Regions from separate parts of the Homo sapiens genome. Here regions 2, 3 and 4 are each linked to region 1. The links are contacts of gene promoters, found by promoter capture Hi-C in human tissues and cell types (Jung and others, 2019). All regions are on one chromosome and are shown on one strand. Each heading gives the region's core, a stretch centred on a gene start or on the middle of the fragment in contact. The rest is flanking DNA. Distances are from core to core; before and after follow the strand shown. Region 1 holds the start of DSTN (destrin, actin depolymerizing factor). Region 2 has its middle 11 kb from the start of SNRPB2. Region 3 has its middle 51 kb from the start of OTOR. Region 4 overlaps KAT14 (lysine acetyltransferase 14).

What was found. The method cuts DNA at HindIII sites, captures the fragments that hold promoters and counts their contacts. A contact is called where the count stands out against the background at its distance.
Region 2: a contact is called between a fragment that was not itself captured here and the fragment with the promoter of DSTN in region 1, in 1 of the 25 tissues and cell types used here (dorsolateral prefrontal cortex).
Region 3: a fragment that was not itself captured here is called in contact with the fragment with the promoter of DSTN in region 1 in 2 of the 25 tissues and cell types used here (heart left ventricle and mesendoderm cells).
Region 4: a contact is called between a fragment that was not itself captured here and the fragment with the promoter of DSTN in region 1, in 1 of the 25 tissues and cell types used here (lymphoblastoid cells).

Annotation. Positions count from the first base shown.
Region 1 is chr20:17,567,960-17,571,694 of GRCh38, forward strand. DSTN (destrin, actin depolymerizing factor) reads left to right here and starts at 2,116. Exons shown (of 4, transcript NM_006870.4): 1 at 2,116-2,252. The coding sequence starts at 2,250. It also overlaps a transcript of BFSP1 not described here. RefSeq lists an enhancer at 1,079-1,646 and silencers at 2,057-2,246, 2,267-2,556. The HindIII fragment of the contact is 11,187 bases long and covers 1-3,373 here.
Region 2 is chr20:16,717,039-16,720,773 of GRCh38, forward strand. No RefSeq gene overlaps it. Among named protein-coding and RNA genes, the nearest start is that of SNRPB2, 11 kb to the right of the region's middle. The HindIII fragment of the contact is 3,736 bases long and covers 1-3,453 here.
Region 3 is chr20:16,797,208-16,800,942 of GRCh38, forward strand. No RefSeq gene overlaps it. Among named protein-coding and RNA genes, the nearest start is that of OTOR, 51 kb to the left of the region's middle. The HindIII fragment of the contact is 3,462 bases long and covers 442-3,735 here.
Region 4 is chr20:18,150,468-18,154,202 of GRCh38, forward strand. It overlaps KAT14 (lysine acetyltransferase 14), which reads left to right. Exons shown (of 11, transcript NM_001392073.1): 4 at 354-475. Among named protein-coding and RNA genes, the nearest start is that of PET117, 14 kb to the left of the region's middle. The HindIII fragment of the contact is 4,437 bases long and covers 1-3,735 here.

The sequences.
Region 1 (3,735 bases), core at 866-3,365:
AAAAAAAGAAGGAACTACTATTGATCCTTGGGAAGTGGTAAGAGAAGTCTTCAGATGCGAAGGGTGATAGGAACATCCCAGGCTGAAAAAATAAGCAGGCCCATGATCAAGGTAGTTAGAACTAGTAAGAGGTGTTCTGGAATGAGAAGTTTCGTCTGGGAGGGGCAGTGGGCACTTAGGAAGATATGGGAGATAGGGCAGAAAAAGTAGGCTGAGGCCAGAGGCAGACGGGCCAGACTGACCTGCTGAGGGTTATGGAGGAAGCCACAGCAAATTTTAAGCAAGAATGTAACAAGACCAGTCTTATGTTTGGACCTAACTCTGGTGGCAGAGTGGAGGACGAAATGCAGGAGAGGCTGGAGCAAGCAGGCAGGCATGTATCCTTAAATGAGCACCATTCACTTTTGGACTAGAAAGGAAGTCTGAATATTAAGAAGTGTAAGGGCCACAGGGTCCTAGGCAGGCAGAAAAGCAAAGGGTTCCAGCTGCAGGAGGATACAGGGGGGTTCCTTCTCAGTTCAGGAGTGTGGTCTCGGACTGGCATCTTCAGCATCACCTAGGAGTTGTTAGAAATGCCCATTCTCAAGCATCATCTTAGAAGCAGTGAGGGAACCTTGGGGATGGGGCACACAAATCTAGCTTTGAACAACTTTTCCAGGTGATTCTGATGCATGCTAAAGAACCACTGCTCTAGCCCGCCAAAAATCATGTCTCAGGTGGTAAAGGCTTAGAACTGCACAACTTACTGTCTTTTTTAAAAAGAACGAGGGTAATGAGAAATGGGTTCCTATGTTGAGTGGGGCAGAACAAAAGCCACATACAACCTAGATTTTACGTAGTGCCGGAAAAAAAAATACTGACCATCTTGTCCAAAAGTCTCATATTTGGAGAATTAAAATAGTTTTGGTCGAGGCCATGATGTTCTCGGTAACCTAAATTAATTTATAAAATTCTTTGTTCCCTTTATTTCCCACAAAAACACCCGCAGCAAAAACGCTGGGATTCATCTGGGCCCTCTGAAAACCGTGTTTCCGACGCAACCGCCCATTAGAAAAACACAATTCCAAATTAAAAACCCGGAGAACTGAGCGGCGGGGCTGGCGCCACCGTCCCGGGACAGCGCGGCCTTTCCCAGCCACACCCCTGCGCGCCGCCGGCCTCCTTCCCCGGCAGTTCCCAAAGATAAATAAATGCTCCTTGTTTTTCCAGACCTGAAATTAACGGTGACTCACAGAGCACTCTGCATGGCCACGGTCGCCTCGGGAAGGAGGAAAAATGTGCAGACTTTTTTCCCCTCACGCGAGGGCAGGACAAGCCAGACTGGGCCAATCAGGGGAGGGCGGCGGGAATCGCACCAAAGTAGGTAAAAAATGCGGGAGGCGTCCCCGCTGCCGCGGCCCGCGACTCCGCTCCCGTGGGTCCTCCCCCAGTGCGTTCCCCCTCCTCGGGCCCTGCCCTCCCAACCCCCAACATCTCTCTCCTTCCACCACTGTGTCCCTCTCCCTCACCTCTCCCCTTGCCCCCACCTCCCCCACTAAGTGCCCCCTCGCCCCTCCCCCCACATCCCCCTCCTCTCCCCACACTGTCCCCTCTCCCTCACCTCTTCCCTCCCCTCTCCATCCTCCTCCTCCCCCAACTATGTGCCCCTCGCCTCTCCCCTCCAAATCCCCCTCCTTCCCACACTCTGTACCCCTCTCCCCCGGCTCTCCCCTCCTTTTCCCCTCCACGGCCTCGCCCCGCCCCAGCGGCAGGCACACCTGGCCAGGTGGCTGCCTCCCCGCGCGGGCCATGCCTGCACAGTGGGTGGGGCGTCAGGTGGCCCCGCCGAGGAGGCGAAGGAAGGCCACCCCTCCCCCATCATCTTTTGCCCGCCCCTCGCCAGCAGGAGCCAGCCCAGTCCGCCTTCTAGCCTCCTGCAGACCAGAGAGGACGCACCCCCACCCCTAAACACTTTCTGGTGAGGCGGACCCTGCCCCGCAGCCTTCAGCAGATGAGGGAAGCTCCCCTCCGAGACTCTGGATAGCCGCCGGGGGGGCGTTGCCTGGCCGGCTGGTTGCGTAGCAACGGCAGGCGGTGCGTGACGTGCGCAGCCGCGTTCCGTCCTGAGGCGCGCCCGCCCCGGGGTAAGCTCGCGCCGCCGCGTCAGCTCAGCGCTGGGTCTCTCGGTCCCGCAGCCGTGAGGAGGACGGTCTGCATACTCGCTGCCCGCCGGCTCCCTCCCCCGCGTCCCTGCGACCGCCGCGGCGAAGATGGTGAGTAGGAGGGAGGCCGAGGCGTGGGCCGAGGCGGCCGGGAGCAGTGTGTCTCTGGGGCGCCGCGGAGTCGGGGCTAAGGGGGTGAGCCGTGCCTCAGCCCGGGGAGGGACCCGGTCCGGCTGCAGTGTCCGGGCTGCGGGTGAGGGGGGGTCTCTGGGCCTCCGTCTCCCGCCGTCCTGGCTGGGCCCCCGCGCCCCGGGGTGGATCCGCGGCTGTTGCGCAGCTCCCAGCTGGGGCGAGGCCGCCGCCCTGAGCGTGGCCTCTGCGGGTGTCTCCAGACCCGGCCTTGCAACAACTGGCTGGGGTCGAGCGCCCCCACCCGCTCTGTGAAATCCATCCGGGGGTCTGCACACCGAGGCCGGGGAGTGGGGGGCGGGGGGCGTCGGAATCCGGCCACCGTCCTTGTTGGCGTGGGTTTCCCCAGAGCTGGCGCTGAGGCGCTTGGTGACTTGTGCGCGTTCCAGCCCTTGAGGTCTGTCCATCTCAATAAGGAAGATAAAGCCTTTATGGAACAGTCCTAGAGCACGGAATGATCGCTAACGAGCAGGATCCTGGCATGATTTAGAACGGGGTGGCCTTGCAGCTCCTTTGTTTTTTTCTTTTTATCTGGCAATCGGCTTCCAGCAGCACTCTCGTCGTGCTTGTCAAGCTTGGCAGTGTCTGTTTTAACCCTTCCCTGCCCGATCTGTCCGTGTATGGTTAGAATTTTTTTTCTGACCTGTAGACAGTTGGACTCTGCCAGAACTTGGTGCGCAAGGTGTGGGCATGATGCTGGGATGCTGATACAACCAAATTTAAGAGCTTTAAAAACCATTAAAATACTGGAGTCACCAGAAAGTAAACAGGTGCTCATTAGTATATTCTATATGATGGACATTTTGCTTAATTTACATATTTTCCCCCTTTACACTGTCACTCTAATTAGCTATTTAAAAACGTATTCTCAACTGAACTATCAGTTGGAACATTTTGTCGTTTTCGTTAGTGTGCACACACTGTTACCATTTTTGGTCAGTGATTTGCAGGCGTAGCCTTACCAGACTTTGCTAGAAATATTACACTGTAATTGCATCTGTCTAGAAGCAGTTGGTACCAGCTTATCTGCATACAAACTGTTTTCACTGTATAACAGTTTTGGTTTTCTTAAGTTACTACAACTTCCGTGAACATGCAGGCGGCCCCTTAGTGAAAGAAAAGATAAACCGGTAGTTTCTTGATGACTGTAGATATGTATGTAATAGGGATTTGATACTGTTCAGTTTTTGGTTCTTCTTTGGTTTAATGCTGTAAGCTACAAAGTATCAGCATCTTGAGTCTTTTTAATATCTAATTATTAGAAATTTAATAACATTTTAAATGTATATGCTACTTTATACTGAAAGACTTAATCTAGGGGCTTTGAGTTATGGTACGCTTAAGACCATTCACTCTGTGAAAGTGCTTTGAAGCTGACTAGGGTCTGCTCTAGAGACTTCTGATT
Region 2 (3,735 bases), core at 336-2,835, 850 kb before region 1:
GAACCTCTTGAAGTTTCTAATCATCCTCTTACCTCTTACATTAGCTGTAACTTTAGTGATTATGTCAAGAGAGTGAATTGTGCTTTGAAATTAGGGGAGGTTGAAAACATGGTTTGTGTGCTGTCAACTGTTTAGGGTGGAGAAATGGATTCTACAAAATCTGCTTCCCACCTCTGATTTCAAAATATTGAAGTAAATTTCACATTTCTTGTAGGCAATTAAAAAGGACAAATGTTGAAATTATATATCACTAGAAAGGTCTTTATGATCCATGTAACTTGGTGGGTAAATATTTTAAAAATCTCTTAAGTAGTAAATTTGACAGAGAGGGCTTCTTGCTTCCAAATATTAATTTTTACTCTTCGCCTTCAGATAGCAAAATCTTGGGCAACATCTCCTGCCAAGAAACTACATTTCCTGGCCTTTTTGTTTTTTAAACTTGGTGAGCCCATGTAACTGAGTTCTAGCCAAAGTAATACAGATGGAAGTATAGTTTTGAAGCCTACCTAAAAGAGTGGGGGCTAGGCACAGTGGCTCACACCTGTAATCCCAACATTTTGGGAGGCTGAGGCAAGAGGATTGCTTCAGGCCAGGAGTTTGAGACTAGCCTGGGCAACAGAAGGAGACCTCGTCTCTACAAAACAGAAAAAGAAATACAAAAATTAGCTGGACATGGTGGCATACGCCTGTAGTCCTAGCTACTTGGGAGGCTGAGGAGGAACACCTGAGCCCAGGAGTTCAAGGCTGCAGTGAGCTATTATTGCAGCCTCGGTGACAGAGCAAGACCCTGTTTCTAAAAAAAAGAAAAAAAAAAAAGACAGTGGGCAAAGCCATTCTCCTTCCTTCCTGCCTGGAACTTCAGCAGCCATTTGGGACTGTGAAGTCACCTTTTGAATGAAAGCAGAAAAATAGACCAAGAAAATAAAACGGAAAAGTAGAAGTTCTCTCAGTCCATGAAGACTTTGTGGAACAGCCTTGAACTGCTGATCTTCAGGTGTCTTTTACATAATAATCCTTTGTGAGTTTCAGCCACTGCAAATGAGTCTCTGTTGCTAGTAGTTGAACACAGCTCCCCACTGATGTAGATGGATAGAAATGTAGAATCCATACTTTCTCGATCTAAAGATTAAGAAGTCCATGGATTCTGATGGCGTTTTCTTCTTCACGGGATCCCCAGTGGAGAGGGATGTGCAGTCTACCTCTGTGCTTGGCTTCCTCCACTATTTGTGACTGTAACTATCAGGCTTGTCCAGTTTATTCCCCTTCCCTTCAGTTCTGGGTTGATCGCAAGACTGTGGGGAAAATAAGATGTATTAATGTCTCTCTTCACATAAAAACTGCAGACTCTGTTATGGCCTGTATATCAGAGGCATCCATGGAACAAAAGGCTCGAGGCACCTTGAGGAAAGTCATGGTGACCCCCACCCATGAAGAAGTGTGAAAAAGCCATTCCTCTAGAAAGCCCATGAAACAGATGATATTTTCTAAAAGTGGCTATAAGAATATCTCTGGTCCCACGCAAACTTCCAGAAATGTTCTACTTCCCTCATCAAGACTAGAATCTACGTCCCCTCCCTTTCAACCTAGGAAGGTCTTTGTGACTATCTCAATTAATAGAAGACAGCAGAGGAGATACTACATGACTTTCAAGACTGGGTCATAAAAGACAATACAACTTCTGCCTAGCTCTGTGTCTAGGAACAGGTATGTTTCTAACCCTGTAAGAAGCCTGCTACCATAAAGTCACCATACTAGAAAGACCACACAGAAGTAAAGATGCCCATGAAATTCAACTGCTCCAATCTGTTTAAATATTGATGGCTCAGATACCAAACATAGGAGTGAGGAAGTCAAGATGATCCTAACCCCAGCCACTGTCTGACATGAGAGATCCTGAGCACCAACCACCTAGCTGAGCCCAGTCAACCTTCAGAACTATGGTCAGGTGTGGTGGCTTATGCCTGTAATCCCAGCACTGTAGGAGGCCGATGGGGAGAATGCTTGAGCCCAGGTGTTTGAGACCAGCCTGGGCAACATGATGAGACTCCGTCTCTACAAAAAATTAAGAAAATTAGCCAGGTGTGATGGTGTGTGCCTGTGGTCCCAGCTACTCAGGAAGCTAAGGTTGGAGTTTCCTTTGATCCCAGGAGGTCAAGGCTGCAGTGAGCCATGATTACGCTACTGCGCTCTAGCCTGGGTGACAGAGGGAGGCCCTGTATCAAAAAAAAAAAAAGAAGAAGAAGAAAAAAACCAAAACTCCCAGAACAATGAAAGATAATATAAAATGATTATTATAATTTTGAATCACTGATTTTTAAGATGATTTGTTCACAGCAATGTAAAACTAGATCAGCCCAACAAGCTGAATGCCAGGTCTCTGAGATGCCATTTCTTCCTGCCCTACATCTATGCTTAGATACCTGCAGAGGTGTCTCTGGTAGGTGGTCCTTCCCAGTTCACCTGAACACCTCCAGTAACAGAGATTCACTATCCTTGGGAAGCCTGGATAATTTTTTATCTTCTCTAAAAGCTGAAATTCTGTCTCCCTCTGGCATCCACCTCTTGTTCTTAGCTCAGAGGTGTGGGCCCATTCAGAGCAAGCCAGATTCCTCCTCCACAAGCAATCTTGAAACTACTTAAAGACATCTTTCTTGCTTCTTGTGGGTTTTTGCTTCTTTAAATACTAAGTATGCTTTTTTATGTCATTAATCTCTTCGTGAGCACCCCTGAGGAGCTAAGAGTGAGAGAAAATGGTATGAAACAAAAAGCTTTTTGTGCAAAGAAATCTCCAGATTTCTAGATGTAATAGAAGGTGAAAAGGCAAGATGTGAAATTATGTATTCACTAGAATTATAATTATGTAAAATAAACCTATGAAATAGGCTTCAAGGAAATATCCCCAATAGAAATATTTAACTGAAAGTGTGATTTGCTGCCTGATTTTCGAAACTTTTTATACCATTGTTAAATTACTTACATATAATGCATTTGAGATCTTCTGAAGAGGGAAAGGATGCTTTTCAGCCTAGGGAAGGTGAAGACACTAATGAAGTCTTTCATTTCATCCAGGCTTTCCAGGCTTGCCAAAGTGTGCCACACTTACTCTCAAGGGCTTTTACCACATCTACAAAGAAACAAAATGAGTGTATTTAGTGCCCTTGCTCAAGGTCAGTCAAGCTGACCTATCAGGTGACTGCCCACAAGTCAGTTTATCCAAACAAGTAAACCAAATTCACTGTTCCAAGACCATCCGATTTTTCTCTCCCTTTTCTCCTTTCTCTTATAAATCCTGTATTTGCCTTGGTTCATTGGACGTCTATGGATTATCTTCCTTGTAAGAATAAAATTTGCAAGCAAAAAACTAAAAATCTCTTTTTAAAAAAAATATAAAAAGAAAAGCAAACCTTCAATGACTCCCCCTTTTTTAAAAAAATTATTTTACTTTAAGTTCTGGGATACATGTGCAGAATGTGCATGTTTGTTACATAGGTATATGAATGCCATGGTGGTTTACTGAACCTATCAACCCATCATCTAGATTTTAAGCCCCACATGCATTAGGTATTTGTCCTAATGCTCTCCCTTCCCTTACCCCCCACCCCCCGATAGGCCCTAGTGTGTGATGTTCCTCTCCCTGTGTCCATGTGTTCTCATTGTTCAACTCCCACTTATGAGTGAGAACATGTGGTGTTTGGTTTTCCGTTTCTGTGTTAGTTTGCTGAGAATGATGGCTTC
Region 3 (3,735 bases), core at 923-3,422, 770 kb before region 1:
GTTGTTCCCTTCTATGTGTCCATGTGTTCTCATCACTCAGCTCCCACTTATAAGTAAGAACATGACTTATCTGATTTTCTGTTCCTGCCTTCACTTGCCAAGGATAATGGCCTCCAGTTCCATCCGTGTCCCTATCAAGGGCAGGATCTCATTCTTTCTTATGACTACATAGTATTCCATGGTATATATATACCACATTTTCTTTATCCAGTCTATCATTGATGAGCATTCCATGTCTTTGCTATTGTGAATAGCACAGCAATGCACATATGCGTGCATGCGTCTTTATAATAGAACAATTTATAGTCCTTTGGATATATAAGTAATGGGATTTTTGGGTTGACTGGTATTTCTGTCTTTAGGTTTTTGAGGAATCACCACACTGTCTTCCACAATGGTTGAATGAATTTACACTCCCTCCAACAATATATAAGCATTCCTTTTTCTTTACAACCTCACCAGCATGTTATTTTTTGACTTTTTATTAATAGCCATTCTGACTGGTGTGAAATGGTGTCTCACTATGGTTTTGATATGCATTTCTCTAATGACCAGTGATGCTGACCTTTTTTTATATGCTTGTTGGCTGCATGTATGTCTTCCTTTGAAAAGTGTCTGTTCATGTCCTTTGCCCACTGTTTAATGGGGTTGTTTGTTTGTTTCTCATAAATTTAAGTTCCTTATAGATGCTGGATATTAGACCTTTGTCAGATGCATAGTTTGCAAAAATTTTCTTACATTCTGTAGGTTGTCTGTTTACTCTATTGATAGTTTCTTTTGCTGTGCAGAAGCTCTTTAGTTTAATTAGATACCATTTATCAATTTTTGCTTTGCTTTTGGTGTCTTTGTCATAAAATCTTTGCCCATGCCTATGTCCTGAATGGTATTGCCCAGACCCCATTGTCTCAGTCCAAAAGTGTCTTAAGCTGATAAGCAACTCCGGCAAAGTCTCAGGATACAAAATCAATGTGCAAAAATCTCTAGCATTCCTATACCACCAACAGTCAAGACAAGAGCCAAATCACAAATGAACTCGCATTCACAATTGCCACAGAAAGAATAAAACACCAAGGAATATAGCTAACAGGCGAAGTGAAAGATCTCTACAAGAAGAACTACAAACCACTGCTCAAAGAAATCAGAGAGGACACAAACAAATGGAAAAACATTCTATGCTCATGGATAGGAAGAATCAATATTGTTAAAGAATCAATATCATGAAAATGGCCATTATTCTCAAAGCACTTCATAGATTCTGTGCTATTTCCATTAAACTTACTGTTGACATTCTTCACAGAACTGGAAAAATTATTTTAAAATTCATACGGAACCAAATAAGAGCCTGAATAGCCAAGACAATCCTAAGCAAAAAGAACAAAGCTGGAGGCATCATGCTACCCAACTTCAAACTATACTACAGGGCTACAGTAACCAAAACAGCATGGTAGTGGTACAAAAACAGACACATAGACCAATGGAAGAGAATAGAGAACCCAGAGATAACACCACACACCTACAATGATCTGATAACATGAGTAGCAATTCTAAGTAAGGGGACAGAAGGAATAAATAAAAAGCCTGAGAAGTCTGTTAGACCTGATATAAAATAATAAATCAAGAGAATGAAAAATCAATATGGATTTACTGCACAAGCTCATCTGGAATAAAAAAGAAGCAATTAGTGAAAAGAGCCAGTACAGTTTTAAAGAGACAAAACAATGAGAATAATGTGCTCCTCCTTCTAATATAAAAATAAACTGGATAGCTATTAAGATTAGAATAGCATTTCTCTGGTTGGAACCCTGACGAACAGCTCAATAAAAAATAATGAGTCCCAAAAGACACCCTAATTTAAAAAAAATGCTCAAAATAGGATAAAGGAAACATCACAAATCAAGAATGAAGTAGCATAGGGTGAGAAAGCAGATTGTTGTTTCACATTATATGCCCAAATAAAATCTAACCAAAAAGAATTAATGGAAACAAAACAAAAACAACAATTTTGTGATAAACTAGAACAGTATATGACTTTTAGCTGGATTTCAGTGGGAAATGGCTTCTTTAGCTTTAAAGTGATGGAAGAATTTACCACCACTCAGCCTTGCTGCGTTGCTCCGGCTGTGTTGGTCCACTCCGGGCACAACTAACTGATCACAAGGTGTCAGGGACTTTATTTCATCTTAATAAATTGTCTCCTGGCAAGTCTGAATGAACAGATTAGGACCTGATGTCTTAAAACAATGTTTATCATACTGTGATCAGTAAACCAGCTACATCTGAATGTCCTGAGGTAAACTGTTACATAAATAAATAAAAAGACAGAAATGTTTTAAAAAGATAAATTTTTAAGGAATTCTAGATTCTGTCTTAGGTATGTTGAATCATTATCTCTTGGACATACAAAATCAAAATAAGCTCAGGACACTACGCATTTTAACCACATTCTTAACACAATAGCAAGTTTTGAGAATTACTGGCTTGACAGAAGCACTGTTCAGTGGACCAGAAGGAGAGGCTTTAACAGAGATACTAGAACATAGTGGTGGTATCTCTATTGTGCCCTCCTAGGGATGCCCGGAGAAAGGTCCTGGTTTCTCATCAGGACAAGTCAGATTCTCTCTGAGTATGATAAACCTGCCCAGTCCCTGTCTCCCCTGCCTTTCTTTCTGGGTTTACAACCTGCAATTGGCATGGTTTGCTGAAAACCAATGGTTAGAGCGTAAAATAGAAATCTCTGTATATATTTTCTAGAAACAGCCTCCATCATTTGGATAAAAAGTGGTAATCGGCCATTTGTTACCACTGACTTTTGTGAGAAAATTACTGTTGAGTACATCTAGAACAATGAATTGACTTGCTCAATCTTCGTTTAACCTTCCTTCTAAGTTTGAGAGGTTTGAAAGCCAAACACTGTATTTTTCAGATTTCTTTGCCGTTAGAGTTCTGGAAGCAACTTAAGCTTTGTGATTAGATTGACTCACATGATGTTTGGATCATAGGAATGAGGTGAAAGCATCTTCCTGCATACGTGTTGGCTGAATCTGTTGGGAAACAAGGAGATTCTGAAGCATCTTGCCAAAAGACTACTGAGTTTTCTGGCCCCATAGACACCAGTGGCTTCTCGAATTTGGGAGAACTCCAGGGGTGGTCTCTGGGCCGGTAGTTTCCCTGGTGGGTCGCTTCTGCAATGTTCCAACAGCTGATGATTCCTGAAGCCCAGCCCAGAATGTGCTCCTTTAGGTTCAGCAGTGACTTTGTAAATGTCTGTATTAAATCCTTCCCTGCTTAAAATAAGCAGGGTGGGTTCTGTTCTTACCCCAAACTGTAATGGATACAACAATAATCAAGGGTTTGGAGAGTTCATCGTTGAGGTGTCTTGACTGGGTTTTAAATTTGTCAGTGAAACTGACAAATTTTCTTGAAGAAGTGGTAAAAGCTATTAATTTTATTAAATATTGGTCCATAAATATGTATCTTTTAAATTATCTGCATGATGAAATGGGAAGTGTGCAGAGAGCACTTCTGCTGTACACCAAAGTACAACATTCATTCAGAGGAAAAACTCTTGTCTGGTTGTTAGGGTTGTGAGGGTTGTAATCACTTTTTTTTTGGTGGAATGCTATTTTTACTTGAAATAACTGACAGATAAAGTAAGGTTATTCAGATTTGGGTGTTGGGTGTTTTCTAAAAAATAATCAGAATGAATGTGTCATTTCGAGGAAAACCAGTTGGTAC
Region 4 (3,735 bases), core at 396-2,895, 580 kb after region 1:
AGGACTACACTGTGTAGGGTGCGGGATCCTTGGGACAATGCCTGTTTATCAGCTGATTCAGGGGCATCTCTGTTGTAGCCATCAGTTCAGCCACACATTAGCCCTGCATGTGTGGCACCTAAGGATTAGATGCTTAGTTCTGCACATAATTAAGTGGATTAGTGATAATCTAACGAAAGTAAAAAAGGAAGTAAATTCTACCCTGGGAATATTCCAAGATACCGTCCGTCCTTTGTTCGCTCTGTTCCCCACCATTCCTACTCAGAATATAAAACAGAAGAAGCTTTTCCCCCCTCAAGATTAACATCCCTAACCGTGCTGTTCTCCCACCTCTTGTTTCAATTGTGTTTCAGGTCGTCATGTTGGCAATGTACAACTTGTCTCTGGAAGGAAGTGGACGTCAAGGTTATTTCAGGTGGAAAGAAGATATCTGTGCTTTTATTGAGAAACATTGGACTTTTTTACTAGGGAATAGGTAATGTGTTTTTAAAAAATCTTATACTTCAAGGAATATGTAAAGAATGAAGTATACAGGATTTGAGACAGCCTAATGTAGACTTGTTAGAGATTTATTTTAATTTTTTTGAGATAGAGTCTCCCAGGCTGGAGTGCAGTGGCATGACCATAGCTCACTGCATCCTCAACCTCCTGGGCTCAAGTAGTCCTCCTGCATCAGCCTCCTGAGTAGCTGGGATTACAGGTGTGCACCAACATGCCTGGCTTATTTATTTATTTATTTATTTTTTGGAGGCAGAGTCTTGCTCTCTCCCCCAGGCTAGAGTGCAGTGGCGTGATCTCGGCACACTGCAACCGCCACCTCCCGGGTTCAAGCGATTCTCCTGCCTTAGCCTCCTGAGTAGCTGGGATTACAGGCACCTGCCACTATGCCCAGCTAATTTTTGTATTTTTAGTAGAGACGGGGTTTCACCATGTTGGCCAGGCTGGTCTTGAACTCCTGACCACAAGTGATCTGTCTGCCTCGGCTTCCCAAAGTGCTTGGATTACAGGCGTGAGCCACTGCGCCTGGCCTTATATTTTTGTAGAGACAGGGGTCTCGTGTTGTCTCAGGCTGGTTTTGAACTCCTGGGCTCAAACAGCTCTCCTGCCTTAGCCTTCCAAAGTGCTGGGATTATGGTGGGTGTGAATCACCGTTCCTTACCTTGTTAGAGATTTAGAGTGTTTACTTGTGGCAATTACGAAAATTTTTGAATTCCAGAGAATATTTTTACTTTTTTAAGATTAAAAAAAAAACTTGGCTGGGCGCAGTGGCTCATGCCTGTAATCCCAGCACTTTGGGAGGCCGAGGTGGGTGGATCACCTGAGGTCAGGAGTTCAAGACCAGCCTCGCCAACATGGTGAAACCCCATCTCTACTAAAATACAAAAATTAGCTGGGCGTGGTGGCAGGCAACTATAATCCCAGCTACTGAGGAGGCTGAGGCAGGAGAATTGCTTGAACCCAGGAGGTGGAGGTTGCAGTGAGCCAAGATTGCGCCATTGCACTCCAGCCTGGGCAACAGAGTGAGACTCCATCTCAAAAAAAAAAAAAAAAAGATGTTTGTTTCAACTGAACATGACGTTTTTTGAAGAAATTCTTAGAATGTTAAAAAATAAGAGTTGTATTACATGAGACTGTTCAAGAGTTGGATAAGTCAATATTTCACTTGAGGAGATAGGGTTATTATATTCTTTTAAGCTGTGTGTGGTGGGGCATGCCTGTTGTCCCAGCTACTCAGGAGACCAAGGTTGGAGGATCACTCGAGCCCAGGAGTTTGAAGCCAGCCTGGACAGTATAGTGAGACCCCCATCTCTTAGAAAACACCAACCAGGCTGGGCCCGGTAGCTCAGGCCTGTAATCCCAGCATTTTGGGAGGCCGAGGCGAGCAGATCACCTGAGGTCTGGAGTTCGAGACCAGCCTGGCCAACATGGTGAAACCCCATCTCTACTAAAAATACAGAAATTAGCTGGGCTTGGTGGCGGGTGCCCGTAATCCCAGCTACTCGGGAGGCTGAAGCAGGAGAATCGCTTGAACCTGGGAGGCGGAGGTTACAGTGAGCTGAGATGGGGCCACTTCACTCCAGCCTGGGTGACTCAGCGAGACTCCATCTCAAACAAACAAACAACCAACCAAAAAAAGAACCAAAACAGAGCAGTGCCTTCTAGGAGGACAAGACAGGAAAAATAATGGCAGTTACTGACTGCATCTATTTAGGTTGCCCTTAGTTAATAGAGTTTTGTATTACTAGTATTTGTTTTTAACTCTGTAAAGTAGACACTCTTTTTTATTTTTAACTATTTTTCATAGTGCTTAGCAAAGTCTGGGCACATCTGCATGTGGCTTGTTCATTGGTCACTGTGTTTATCATTGCGCTTTGAGTTTGCTGCTGTGTGCTCTCCCCAGTGGCTGCTTTGGTGCATTAGACTCGGGGATGCCGATGCACAGACCTTGCGACCATATATTTTCACTAAATGTCCACGTGGATCTATCAAGACTTTTATTGCTCTTGGGTACTTGTGAGTTTGCTACCACACTGGTGAATTTTTGTTTGAGATTCTGATTGTTAGTTGCTGTCTGAAGTCCTGTGTGAGATTCATGAATCTTACATAATGAGGTTAGTTTAGACATGACAAAGTCTTTGATCACTTCAGGTCAGGGCAGGGAGTTCATGCCTTTCCTCACTTGGGGTTCACTGCAGCCTCTGTTTCTTCAGAAGCTGAGGAATCACAGCTTTGCTCATGTTACTGAGAGTACGGGAGGGTAGTCAGAAGGAGGGTGACCTGCAGGCTGCTGTGAGAAAATGGAATAGACTCCCTACATTTTTGCAAAAGGGGTTATTTTAGTTCTTGAGCTATTTATTGGTGCTAAGAAAAGAATCGACACTATAACTGGTTCTTTCTCATAAGGAAAAGAAATCTGTTGTTTAGTTTAATGATTTAGCACTATTTATGGACCTTAATGTACCCCATTTATAAGGGATAAGAAAGGGAAAAAACTGATAAAATTGGATCTTGGAATGTTTTCATGATCTTCGAGTGCTGTCCTATTTAGTGGGTTATCTCCTGGAAAAAATTAGATTTAGATTGCCTGTTTTTAAAAATATTGCTGGATTTTAACAGAAGTTGTTTAAATGCTTCATTTGTTCATTTCTAGAGCATGTTCTGAGAGGAATCAGCTGAGCCTTATTTCTTTTTAACATGCCAATGAAAGGCATTAATTACTCTCCAGTTTCTGTGTAGTTTATTTAGTGTGTTGGCCATATTGGTATATCACCGGAATTATTATTTATTTGATCTTCCTATTTAAATCAAGTCACCTGAAAAATACATTAATTTTAAAAAGAAACTTAACATCACCATGGTAAGTGGGAAACCTATATAAATTGTCATAAGTAGAATGTAACAATAAAAATAAAACAATGCTGTTAAATTGTAGCTGGATCCCATGGCATATAATGGCAAGCCATGGCTTTCTTTTCCAGTCAAAAAGGGAGGCTGCTACAAGTGTTAATGAGAATTTAAAGCAGTAAACTTTCTTTTGATCTAACCAGAAGAAGCAAAAGAGAATTAGAAATCACTTTATGATTCTTGCCACCCGGTTTCATGCTACAGTGCTGCTCTTCACTTTGGGAACTCCACTTGAAATATCAGTGATTGGAGAAGTCCCCTGAAACCACTACCCCTGGGTAGTTACCACTTGCTCAGACATTTCTGTGTATGAATGTTAACAAGATTACC